Regions from separate parts of the Homo sapiens genome. Here region 1 is linked to region 2. Evidence: promoter capture Hi-C in human tissues and cell types (Jung and others, 2019). All regions are on one chromosome and are shown on one strand. The core of a region is centred on a gene start or on the middle of the fragment in contact, and the rest is flanking DNA. Distances in the headings are between cores, read along the strand shown.

Region 1 (5,292 bases), core at 979-3,478, 180 kb before region 2:
TATTAATAACATATTTTATTGTCCTATTATATTCAAAAATATCACTTAATATATAATCATTTATATAAAATTAATTAATGAGGCTAGGAGCAGTGGCACACGCTTGTAATACCAGCAATTTGGGAGGCTGAAGCAGATGGATGGCTTGAGCTCAGGAGTTTGAGACCAGCCTGGCTAACATAGCAAAACCCTGTGTCTATAAAAAAATAAAAATAAAAATAAAAATAAATTAGCCGGGTGTGGTGGGGTGAGAATGTAGTCCCAGCTACTCAGGAGGCTGAGGTGGGAGGATCACTTGAGCCCGTGAGGTCAAGGCTGCAGTGAGCCATGATTGCACCACTGCACTCCAACCTGGGTGACAGAGTGAGATGCTGTCTCAGTACATAAATAAATAAAATTAGTTAATGAAACATTTTACTTTTTCTGGTACTAAGCCATCAAAACTTGGTTTGTATTTTACAATTACAGCATGTCTCTATGCTTGTTATGACAAGCCACGTTGTCTGGGCTCAAAAGCCTCTGTGGCTCACGGCCACTGGGTTAGTCCTTTCGGGACTAGAGCTTGGTTTGATTCCATGGGAGGACAGAGGGAACAGGGTCTTGTGGCCTGTTTTACTCTCTCCTTCATCTTCACGTCCCCTCTACTCCTCTCTTGAAAATTCACACCCAGCCAACTTCTGTTTTCTTTTTTTGAGACAGAATCTGGCTCTGTCGCCCAGGCTGGAATGCAGTGGTGCCATCTTGGCTCATTGCACCCTCAACCTCCCAGGTTCAAGCAATTCTTGTGCCTCAGCCTCCTGAGTAGCTGGAACTACAGGCGTGGACGACCACACCCAGCTAATTTTTGTATTTTTAGTAGAGACAGGGTTTCACCATGTTGGCCAGGATGGTCTCAAACTCCTGACCTCAAGTGATCCGCCTGCCTTGGCCTCCCAAAGTGCCAGGTGCCAGGATTGCAAGCATGAGCCACCGCGCCTGGCTGAACTTTTTTCTTGCTTTTCCTAGTGATCTCCGCCTGGCTCTCTTGTGTCAGCCAGAGTGGCCTTTTGGCTCTCCGCCCACTCTGTCACTCTGCCCAGGGCTTCCATTGGTCCACGGCTGGCACCTTGCATGCCTCCACCTTCAGACTGTGGCTCTCACCCAGGAGCTCCGCACTTGGGACACCCTAGGATCTCCACCCCTGCAGCTCCCAGCTCTGGTGACAGCCTCAGTAATAACACAATTCTGAAATATATTCCTACCAGCCAGCACTTACTGAGCAGGCAACGCCAGACATTCTGCTGACCCAGGGTGCGTCCTCTTATCCTTCCAACCATCTTGAGGGCAGGAACCATTTTGCACATGAGGCTGTCCTATCAGTCAGTGAGCACTGACAGGTCCCAGGCTGTGTTCAAGGTCAGGGGAAGGAGCTTGGGGGTCATTAGACAAAAGCCCTGGGGGTCCTAGAGGGTTGAGCCAGGTTTATTAAAAATTCCTCCATGTTGGCCAGGTATGGTGGTTCACATCCCTAATCCCAGCACTTTGGGTGGCGGAGGTTGGAGGATTGCTTGAGGCCAGGAGGTCCAGACCAGCCTGGTCAGCATAGCAAAACCCGGTCTCTATTTTATTCAAAATAAGAAAAAGAAAAAAAAAATTTTTTTTTTTTTTGAGACGGAGTCTCACTCTGTCACCCAGGCTGGAGTGCAGTGGCGCGATCTCGGCTCACTGCAAGCTCCGCTTCCCGGGTTCACGCCATTCTCCTGCCTCAGCCTCCCGAGTAGCTGGGACTACAGGCGCCCGCCACCACGCCCAGCTAATTTTTTGTATTTTCAGTAGAGACGGGTTTTCACCATGTTAGCCAGGATGGTCTCGATCTCCTCCTGACCTCGTGATCCGCCCGCCTCGGCCTCCCAAAGTGCTGGGATTACAGGCGTGAGCCACCGCGCCTGGCCCAAAAAAAAAAAAACATTTAAAAAAAAATTTCCTCCATTTTGCTGGAAAGAGGATCTCAGTGTATTCCCTTTCCTGCCACCTGCGAACAGGCGGGAGCCCCCGCAGTAAGGAGGCCTGGAGGTGGCTGCCTCCAGCTGCCCCAGGCCACTCTCCCGGCAGGTCACCTCCCTGTCCCAAGTAGGGTGCGCTTGGTGACCGCAGCAAAAAATCCTGGAGAGGAGGAGAGAACTGGGCGGGGCGGGGCAGGCCCAGTGCCTCTCCCGTCGGGGCGGGACCAACATCTGGCCCAGGAGGCACAACCAGGCGGCAGCGGATACAAGGCCAGGCGGCGGCGGGCGGGCGGACCTGCGCCCTGAGCCTTTCTGCGCCCGCGGGCACCATGAGCAGCCGAGTCGGGGACCTGAGCCCCCAGCAGCAGGAAGCGCTGGCCAGGGTGAGGAGCATCGCGGGCTGGGAGGCTTGAGGAGGGGCCCTGAGCAGCCTGGCACTGCCCAACCCGGCTGGAGCCCCCATGGTACAGACTGGAACACCGAGCCTGGAGAGAGCGCCTCTGTTCTGCCCTCTGGTCCAGCGTGCGGTTGTTGAGGCGGCTACGTGCAGCACGCGGGACAGGGGCCCATCTCTGCGTGACCAGGAGCCGAATCCAGTCTTCTGACCTTGCGTGCTCTCCACCACCCGGCCCTGGTCCTTGTTCCCCGGTTGTGGGGGAGGGAGTGGCGCTGCCATCCGGCTGCGGGGGCAGCCTTGGGTAGACAGACTGCTTTTCATGTCCAGGTTGCAACATTTGTTTGTTTGGCTTCTCTTTGTGATTTGTTCTTAGGGCCCAAGCTTCTCTGTAATCTTTTTTTTTTTTTTTTTTGAGATGGAGTCTTGCTCTGTCGTCCAGGCTGGAGTGTAATGGCGCAATCTCGGTTCACTGCAACCTCCACCTCCTGAGTTCAAGCGATTCTCCTGCCTCAGCCTCCCAAGTAGCTGGGGCTACAGGTGCCCGCCACCACACCCGACTAATTTTTGTATTTTTAGTAGAGACGGGGTTTCACCATATTGGCCAGGCAGGTCTCTTGGACAGGCTGGTCTCGAACTCCTGACCTTGTGATCCATCCGCCTTGGCCTCCCAAAGTGCTGGGATTACAGGTGTGAGCCACTGCGCCCGGCCTCATATTTCTAATCCCAAATTTGGATTCACAGATTCACCTTCAAACCCAGCCTTTGCCTTCAGCTCTGTTGGTCCCCAGGGAAGTGAGATCTCCTCTCTCTCAGACGCAACAGATGCCCTGATAAGGCATTCCTGGCTTCTCTTTCAGCCCCTGTCTGTTGACCTCTGCCTCTGTTTTTTTTCCACAAAGCCTCCATTGTCCGGGGCATCAGGCAGTCCACGCTGGCTGAGTGCTCACATATATCTGACACCTGCTCGGAGCCAAGCCTGCTAAGTGTTTTACGTGCACAGACTCCTTTGATTGGTACAAGTTTATTTTTATCCCCATTTCAGAGATAAGGAAACTGAGGCTTAGAGAGGTTTGGTAACTTGCCTCTAAATCTAAACCCTCAAGATGCAGTATCAGGGACAACATTCCTAAAACCGCCTAGCTGGCCTGCATCAGACTCTCCCAGGGATCCTTGTAGAAATAAGGCTGTCAGTCGGGCATGGTGGCTCACGCCTGTGATCCCAGCACTTTGGGATACTAAGGCGGGTGGATTGTTTGAGCCAAGGAGTTTGAGACCAGCCTGGGCAACATAGCAAGATCCCATCTCTACAAAAAGTACAAAAATTAGCTGGGCATCTTGTGTGCCTGTGGTCCCAGCTACTTGGGAGTCTGAGCTGGGAGGATCTATTGAACCCGGGAGGCACGGGTTGCAGTGAGCCAAGATCACGCAACTACGCTCCAGCTTGGGCGATAGAGTGAGATCCTGTTTCAATAATAATAATAATAATAATAATAATATAAAAATAATAATAAAATAAAAATTAAAAATAAGGATGCCAGGGCCCCACCTTAGACATGTAGAATGGGAGTCCAGTGTGTAGGGCACTCCCAAATTTTGGGAAGGACCCAACTCTTTTTCCTATGTTGGGCTGGAGGGTGCCCTATTTTCAGATGGCAAAGTCGTTCAGGGCAGCACCCTGCATGGTCTTCTGGTGGAGTTGACTGGTGGATGATGTGGGAAGGGTTAGGGGCGGGGTTGGTGGCCCCCGAGGTCATGAGAGCTCCGCCGACCATCAGATCCTCCTCCGCTCAGTTCCGGGAGAACCTCCAGGACCTGCTGCCCATACTGCCCAATGCTGATGACTACTTCCTCCTGCGCTGGCTGCGAGGTGAGGCTTGCAGGGGTCAGGGGACGCAGAAAGGGAGGGAAGGAAGGAGGGTCTCAGGAGAGGAGTGGGAGACTTTGAGGGAATGGAGCTGTAGGGTAGTAAAGAACACAGGCTTGCCGGGCCCGGTGGCTCACACCTGTAATCCCAGCACTTTGGGAGGCCGAGGCAGGCAGATCACCTGAGGTCGGGAGTTCGAGACCAGCCTGACCAACATGGGGAAACCCTGTCTCTACTAAAAATACAAAATTAGCTGGCTTGGTGGCACATGCCTGTAATCTCAGCTACTCAGGAGGCTGAGGCAGGAGAATCGCTTGAACCCGGGAGGCAGAGGTTGCGGTAAGCCGAGATCCCGCCATTGCACTCCAGCCTGGGCATCAAGAGTGAAGCTCCGTCTCAAAAAAAAAAAAACAAAAAAACAAAAAACACAGGGTCTGGAATCAGCCTGCTCTGACTAGAATCTGAGCTCCCCTGTGTATGAGCACAGCACAAAACCCCACTGAGCCTCAGTTTCTTCATCTGTCAAGCAAGGATGAGGCAACAGGTGGGCACAGAGTCCAGGTGAGGTTACAGTTAACAGCCAGGACATCCTCAGGCCTCTGGCCTGGCCAGCCCTTGGGGCAGATGTTGCAGAGCACTGTTTTCAGTACTTGCCTTTGGGTGTACCTCCAGTTCCCCGAGGACAGGGCTCTGTTGTCCCCTAAAGGAACCGAGGTGCCCTAGTGCACTGAGCAGGTGCCCAGCAAACACTTAAGGAAGTGGATTTAGCGAATGCTAGAGAAGCAGTTTCTTCTAGGAATTACAGCAGCAGTCTAAAAAAATAATAACAAGCCAGATGCGATGGCTCACACTTATAGTCCCAGTGCTTTGGGAGGCTGAGGCAGGCAGATTTCTTGAGCTCAGGAGTTCAAGACCAGCCTGGGCAACATGGCGAAACCTCATCTCTACAAAAAATACAAAAATTAGCCGGGTGAGCTGCCGAGCACCTGTAATCCCAGCTACTCAGGAGGCTGAGGTGAGAGGATCACTTGAGCCTGGGAGGTGGAGGA
Region 2 (5,701 bases), core at 853-3,352:
CTCACAGAGCTGAGTAAGAACATGTTTGGGATATAACCCTAGGGATAGAATCATGAAGTCAAAGGGTCGTGGATACTTTTCTTTGCTGTACTTGAGGCTTCACATCTGCCCCAGGTATGTCTGGCTCCTCCCCCTCCCTTTCCTGGGATAGGCCCATACCACCATGAAAGACCCATACCGCCCCTCCTGGGAGCTGGGACCAGGAGCCCACCACTGTCTGGAGTCACTGAAGAGAAGGAACATCCTCCTAGACTGAGGGTTTAAGACCAAAATAGCCTGTGCCCACTCCCATGTCTGTTCTTGCCTTGTTTATGGAAAGCCAGAAGCTCATGGAATGTGAGGATTGTACAATGACGCCATCAAGAATGTCCAGGCCACATGGCATCAAGGTGAAATCACTCAAGGCTCAAGACCCCCTCTTGGGGCTTGCCTTGGGGCCCTGAATAGTCTGTCCCAGGCCCTGCAGCCAGGTCTGAGTCTTCCAGTCCCTTCCCCTCTCTAGGCCTGTCTCTCCCACAGGTCTGCAGGGAGTGTCAGATGACAATATACTGTGACTTGTAAACCATAAAGTACTAGACATAAGCGAGGAGCTATCATTATATTATAGATCCAAGAGTTGACAATCTCTAGGGTCAGAAATCAGCTGCTTGGGGCTAAGCCCATATAGATAAAATCGGCCCATCCCTCCAAATATAGGCAGTTGGTAAGAGCTAAGTTCGAATCCTGGCTATATTCACAGCTAATTCTGGGACCTTAGGCAACTGACTTTACCTCAGTCTCCTTAACTGTAAAATGGGACTAATAATGGTGTATACCTCATTGCTAAGAGATTACAAGACATGTTGCAACCAATTTGGAAAACAGTTTGCCAGTTCCTCGAAAGGTTAAACAGTTGCCATATGACCCAGCAATTCCACTCTTCCTTATCTATCCAAGAGAAATGTAAACATAAGGCCCCCACACAAAAGCTTGTACCTGAATGGTCAGAGCAGCATTATTCATAATGGCTAAAAACTAGAAACACGCGAATGACCATCACTGATGAATGGAAAAACAAAATCTGGTATAGTCCCAGCTCCCAGGAGGGGCAGTATAGGTCTTTCATGGCGGTGTGGGCCTATCCCAGGAAAGGGAGGGGTGGAGTCAGACATACCTGGGGCAGATGTGAATCCAGAAGCACTGATACATGCTACAATGTGGATGAAACTTGAAAATGTTCAAGAGAAAGAATCCAGACATAAAAGGCCATATATTGTATAATTCCATTTATATGAAATATCCAGAAAAGGGACATCTATAGAAACAGGAAGCAGATTAGTGGTTGCCAGGGACTGGGGGAGCCAGGATGCGGAGTGACTGCTAATTGGTAGGAGTTTCTTTTTGGGGTGATGAAAATGTTCTAAAATTAGAATGTTGTGATGGCTGCACAACTCTGTAAATATGCTAAAAATCATTGTACACTTTAAACGTGAATTTATGGTATGTTTATGTTCCATAAAACTGCTGGGGAAAAGACTACAGGAGAAAGTAGGTAGAGCTTCGGGCGTGCGTGGCTCAGTAAACGCTGGTGATTATTAATAATTAGGTCTCACGAGGTAATTTAAAGCCCCAGAAGCAGTGAGTGCAATGGGACTGCCAGACTTCTGGCTCAGGCTGGGCCTTTAAGCCGCTCTGCGTCCCTGAACTCACTTGGGCCTCCTCAGAGTTCCTCATAAATGAATGGGGCAAACAATCCCTACCACGTCCTTGGGGTCTCGCAGGGAGCGGGGCTCAGGAGGCAGATGAGGAATCCATGGAGGAAGCCCTGGGCCTCCGGCTCGCGCTCTGCAGTAGGTGACAGGCCCCGCTTGGAGCCAACCCGGAAAGGCCCGAGCTCGTCCAGGTGAGTTCTTGTGATTGGCAGCCCGGAGGAGGGCGGGGAGGGCTGCGGTGACGGCTGCCCCGCCCCCTCACTTCGGGCTTGTTGGCGCCCGCCGGGGGAGGGTGGGCGGGGCCCGGGGTCCGCGGCGCCCATTGGGCGTGGGGGGAGAGCTCCGGGGTGGGCCTGGAGCCCCGCCCCCCGGCCTTGCGGCGGCCAATAGGCGCCGCGCGTGGGCGGGGCGTCGGCGGCAGCAGGGCGGCTGAGGTGGCCGCTGGAGCTCAGGCGGCGGGCGCGGCTGGGATGGCGAAGAGCAACGGAGAGAATGGGCCGCGCGCGCCCGCGGCCGGGGAAAGCCTGTCGGGAACCCGGGAGAGCCTGGCCCAGGGCCCCGACGCCGCAACCACCGACGAACTCAGCTCTCTCGGGTCTGACTCGGAGGCCAACGGCTTCGCCGAGCGCCGCATCGACAAGTTCGGCTTCATCGTGGGCTCGCAGGGCGCCGAGGGCGCGTGAGTAGCGCCGGGGGTCGGGACTGAGCGCGCCACCCACGCGAGGGGCCTCGACACGGACGGAGGCGCCCTCGGGACTTGCCGACACGTCCCCCTCCCAGGCAGGGACCACTAATCCCCGTTCCCTCCCCTGCCCCACCCCCACCACCCCTGCCTTCCTAGACCCGCCCCCTTCGCAGTCCTACTTCCGACCCAGGGGGCGGACGGGCCCACACCTCCACCCGCCACCTCCACCCTCCGGACAGACTGACCCGCTCCCAGGAAGGACCGACTGTGCCCTCCTTCCAGCCGTGGAACAGAATGACAGACTGCCCCAAACCCACCCCTGCCGCCAAGACCTTAGGGATGATTGTTTCTGCCACCCCGACAGGCTCCCAGATGGCTGGCGCCCCCCTCCATAGACACTCATTCTCCATCTTTCCCCCTCCCACAAACCCACAGACGCCCTTGTCTCCCCGCCTCACTGCCCCCACACCAGGAGACCTCAGACCGACTTCAGGACTGACTGCCCCGCCCCCACCCCTTCCCAGGACAGACTGACCCTTTCCTCGAGGCATACAGACCTCTGGATGGACAGACATTGGTCACCTCCCTCCCCTCAGCTCCATCCTGGGACAGACAGTCCCTTCTCCTCATGGAAGGGTCGGAGAAGGGCCCCCTATCCGCTCATACACAGCTTCCTCCACTGGCACTGGCAACAGGTGGGCAGGTACTCCCCCTTCCCAGCACGTACAGGGCGACAGGGAGCCCCACCACTAGGACAGACCATCAGCTCCAGCAGCCACAGGAGCCAGTAGATGGGCTCTGTGTATGTCCTGTGTATGTATGCGCCTCCTCCCAAGGGCAGATCTTGGGCGTGGGACGGGGGCAGGCAGGGAGACAGCAGGGTCCCTGCTCATATTAGCACCCCCCGATGTCCTATCCCGAGAGCACCCAGACACCCAGCTAGCAGACAGAGAAATGTGGGGCAGTGGAACAGCACCTTGCCTCCAAGCTGGGCCCCATGTTGCCCCACAGAATCCCCCGAGCCCAGGCCTCAGAGATCATGTGTACAGGCTGGCGGTCCCCTTAGGAAAGATGGACTCCATACCCCACTCCCATCCCAGCTGTCCTGTCACGTGAGACCAGTGTTGTGCACAGAACTGACAAGACTCCCTCCTGATGTGTGCTTTCCATCCCAATCACCAGTAGGAGCTCCTGGGGCCCTGCCATGACCCTACTCCAGAGAATATCCTTTCTCCCTTTCTCTGACCAATTGAGATTGTCCAAGGTCACCCCAGACTCTCTCATGACTTATGGAAGCGCTTTAACTGTCTAAGAACCCCTGTCACTTCCGGGATTTTCCCCAGCCCTAAAGCCTCTTATTCACCAGGCCTCCTTCTTCCTTGGAGAAATCCAGGCCCCTCCCCTAAGGGGAGTTCCCTCTCACCCACTGGATCTGTCTCCTCCAGTATCTCCCTACTGGCTCACAGCAGGCTAGGTTTAGTCCAGGACTCAGAGAGAGCACCCCTCATTCTGAACCCTCACCCTGACTGATGCTTTGTCACAGTTCCCCAGGGATTCACTTGTGAGAACTTAGTGGGGACCTGGAGTGTTTTGAATTGAGGAGCAGTCACCTGGGATTAGGACCCAGGGAGGTGTGTGGTCTTGAGATCTAGGAAAGGAGTTCCCAGTTGCATTTATGGGACCTTGGAAGGAAGAGCTCAGATTTGTGGGAGAATGCTAGGGCATGAGAGTTCCTACTACATGCTTATCAGGCAATCAACCAGATCTTGGGGTGCAGAGCAATGTGATATATTAGGAAAAGGCCAAACTTAGGAATTACACTTGCTAGCTTTGTGACCTTGGGCAAGATCCTGAATCTCTGAGCCTGTTTACTCACTGTAAAGGGCGACAGTAACACCCACTTCCCAACATTACTCTGGGGGTTAAATGAGTATATGATACGTGAAGGTGCCTGGCACAGCGCTTGTCACAAGTAGCGGCCCAGAAAATGTTAGTTTTCTTTCTTTCCTTCTAAGGGTCTGAGAAATGAAGAGAAAAATGAGGGCATATCTCTGGTATTTGTGGGCAGAGTGAGGCCCCAGTGGAAGCACCTCCCTTTGGCTGTAGTCCCCAACCAGGCAGCCAGACATCTGTCTTTCTTACCCCACAACCACAAACCCGGGATGTGGCTCTGCAGACACCCTCTACATGGCTGCTGTCTGTAGGGCTGGGGCTGAGGTGGGATCCCAGCTCCAGTCCTCTCTCCTTCCCTCACTTTCTGGAGCCTGTCAGTCAACCTAAAATCTCTGGTATCTGAAAGCTTCGATGTTCCCTACTTAATTTATATTGTGGTTTCAAAAAAGCCAAGAGTAAGTCCCTGCCCAAGGCCATAGAGGGGAAGTTATGGAAAGCTTCAGGGTGACCGCCCTGAACCCAGTCTCGTGGTTGAAGGCTAGGAGTCCATGTTCTATGCTAGAGAAGTGAAACGTTAGCCCTCATGGGTACTGTGGAGATGGTGGGGACTCTGACTCCAGATTAAAGGTCCATTTCAGCTACCCTGGGCCAAAGGTTGTCTTAAGACATTTTGGATGTGGAAGTTGCCAGGCCTGGGGGTAAGAAAGCAGGTCACAGGCTACCTTACTGAGGTGACTATTAGCTACATGGCATGAGTAGATTAAAAAAACCATAGACTGCACTGTAAGGGATCTTTTTTTTTTGAGACGGAGTCTCGCTCTGTCACCCAGGCTGGAGTGCAGTGGCGCAGTCTCAACTCACTGCAACATCTGCCTCCCGGGTTCAAGTGATTCTCCTGTCTCAGCCTCCTGAGTAGCTGGGAGGCAGAGATTGCACCCATCACCACACCTGGCTAATTTTTCATATTTTTAGTAGAGATGGAGTTTCACCATGTTGGCCAGGCTGGTCTTGAACTCCTGACCTCAGGCGATCCACCTGCCTCAGCCTCCCGAAGTGCTGGGTTTACAGGCATGAGCCACCATGCCTGGCCTGTAAGGGATCTTAATAGATTGACCAGCTCAGCCCTTACTTACATAGATGAGGAAACTGAGGCCCAGAGAGAAGAGTAACTTTCTTAAGATCACAGCATATTAGTGGCAGAACTAGGACTTGGACTTAGGGTTTCTGACTCCCAGGTCAGTACAGTTTCCACTGCCTTCACCATCCATAAATATGGCCTTTCGTCCCTGCAGGATATCAGGTGTCAGACAGGTAGAACAGAAGTGTCTTAGCAGTCACCTGCCTGCTCTTACCTTCCCTGACTTAGCTCAGCACTTTCGACTCTCTCAGCAGTATATGAGGCTAATAGAAGTGGCCCAGAAGGATAAGAATA

Evidence for each region. The method cuts DNA at HindIII sites, captures the fragments that hold promoters and counts their contacts. A contact is called where the count stands out against the background at its distance.
Region 1: a contact is called between the fragment with the promoter of SEC14L4 here and the fragment with the promoter of TBC1D10A in region 2, in 1 of the 25 tissues and cell types used here (stomach).

The regions. Positions count from the first base shown.
Region 1 is chr22:30,502,631-30,507,922 of GRCh38, reverse strand. SEC14L4 (SEC14 like lipid binding 4) reads left to right here and starts at 2,228. Exons shown (of 12, transcript NM_174977.4): 1 at 2,228-2,365; 2 at 4,171-4,246. The coding sequence starts at 2,312. RefSeq lists a silencer at 2,167-2,461. The HindIII fragment of the contact is 16,051 bases long and covers 1-5,292 here.
Region 2 is chr22:30,323,342-30,329,042 of GRCh38, reverse strand. It overlaps TBC1D10A (TBC1 domain family member 10A), which reads left to right and starts at 2,102. Exons shown (of 9, transcript NM_031937.3): 1 at 2,102-2,370. The coding sequence starts at 2,162. RefSeq lists silencers at 1,850-2,179, 2,480-2,529 and an enhancer at 2,746-3,695. The HindIII fragment of the contact is 10,227 bases long and covers 160-5,701 here.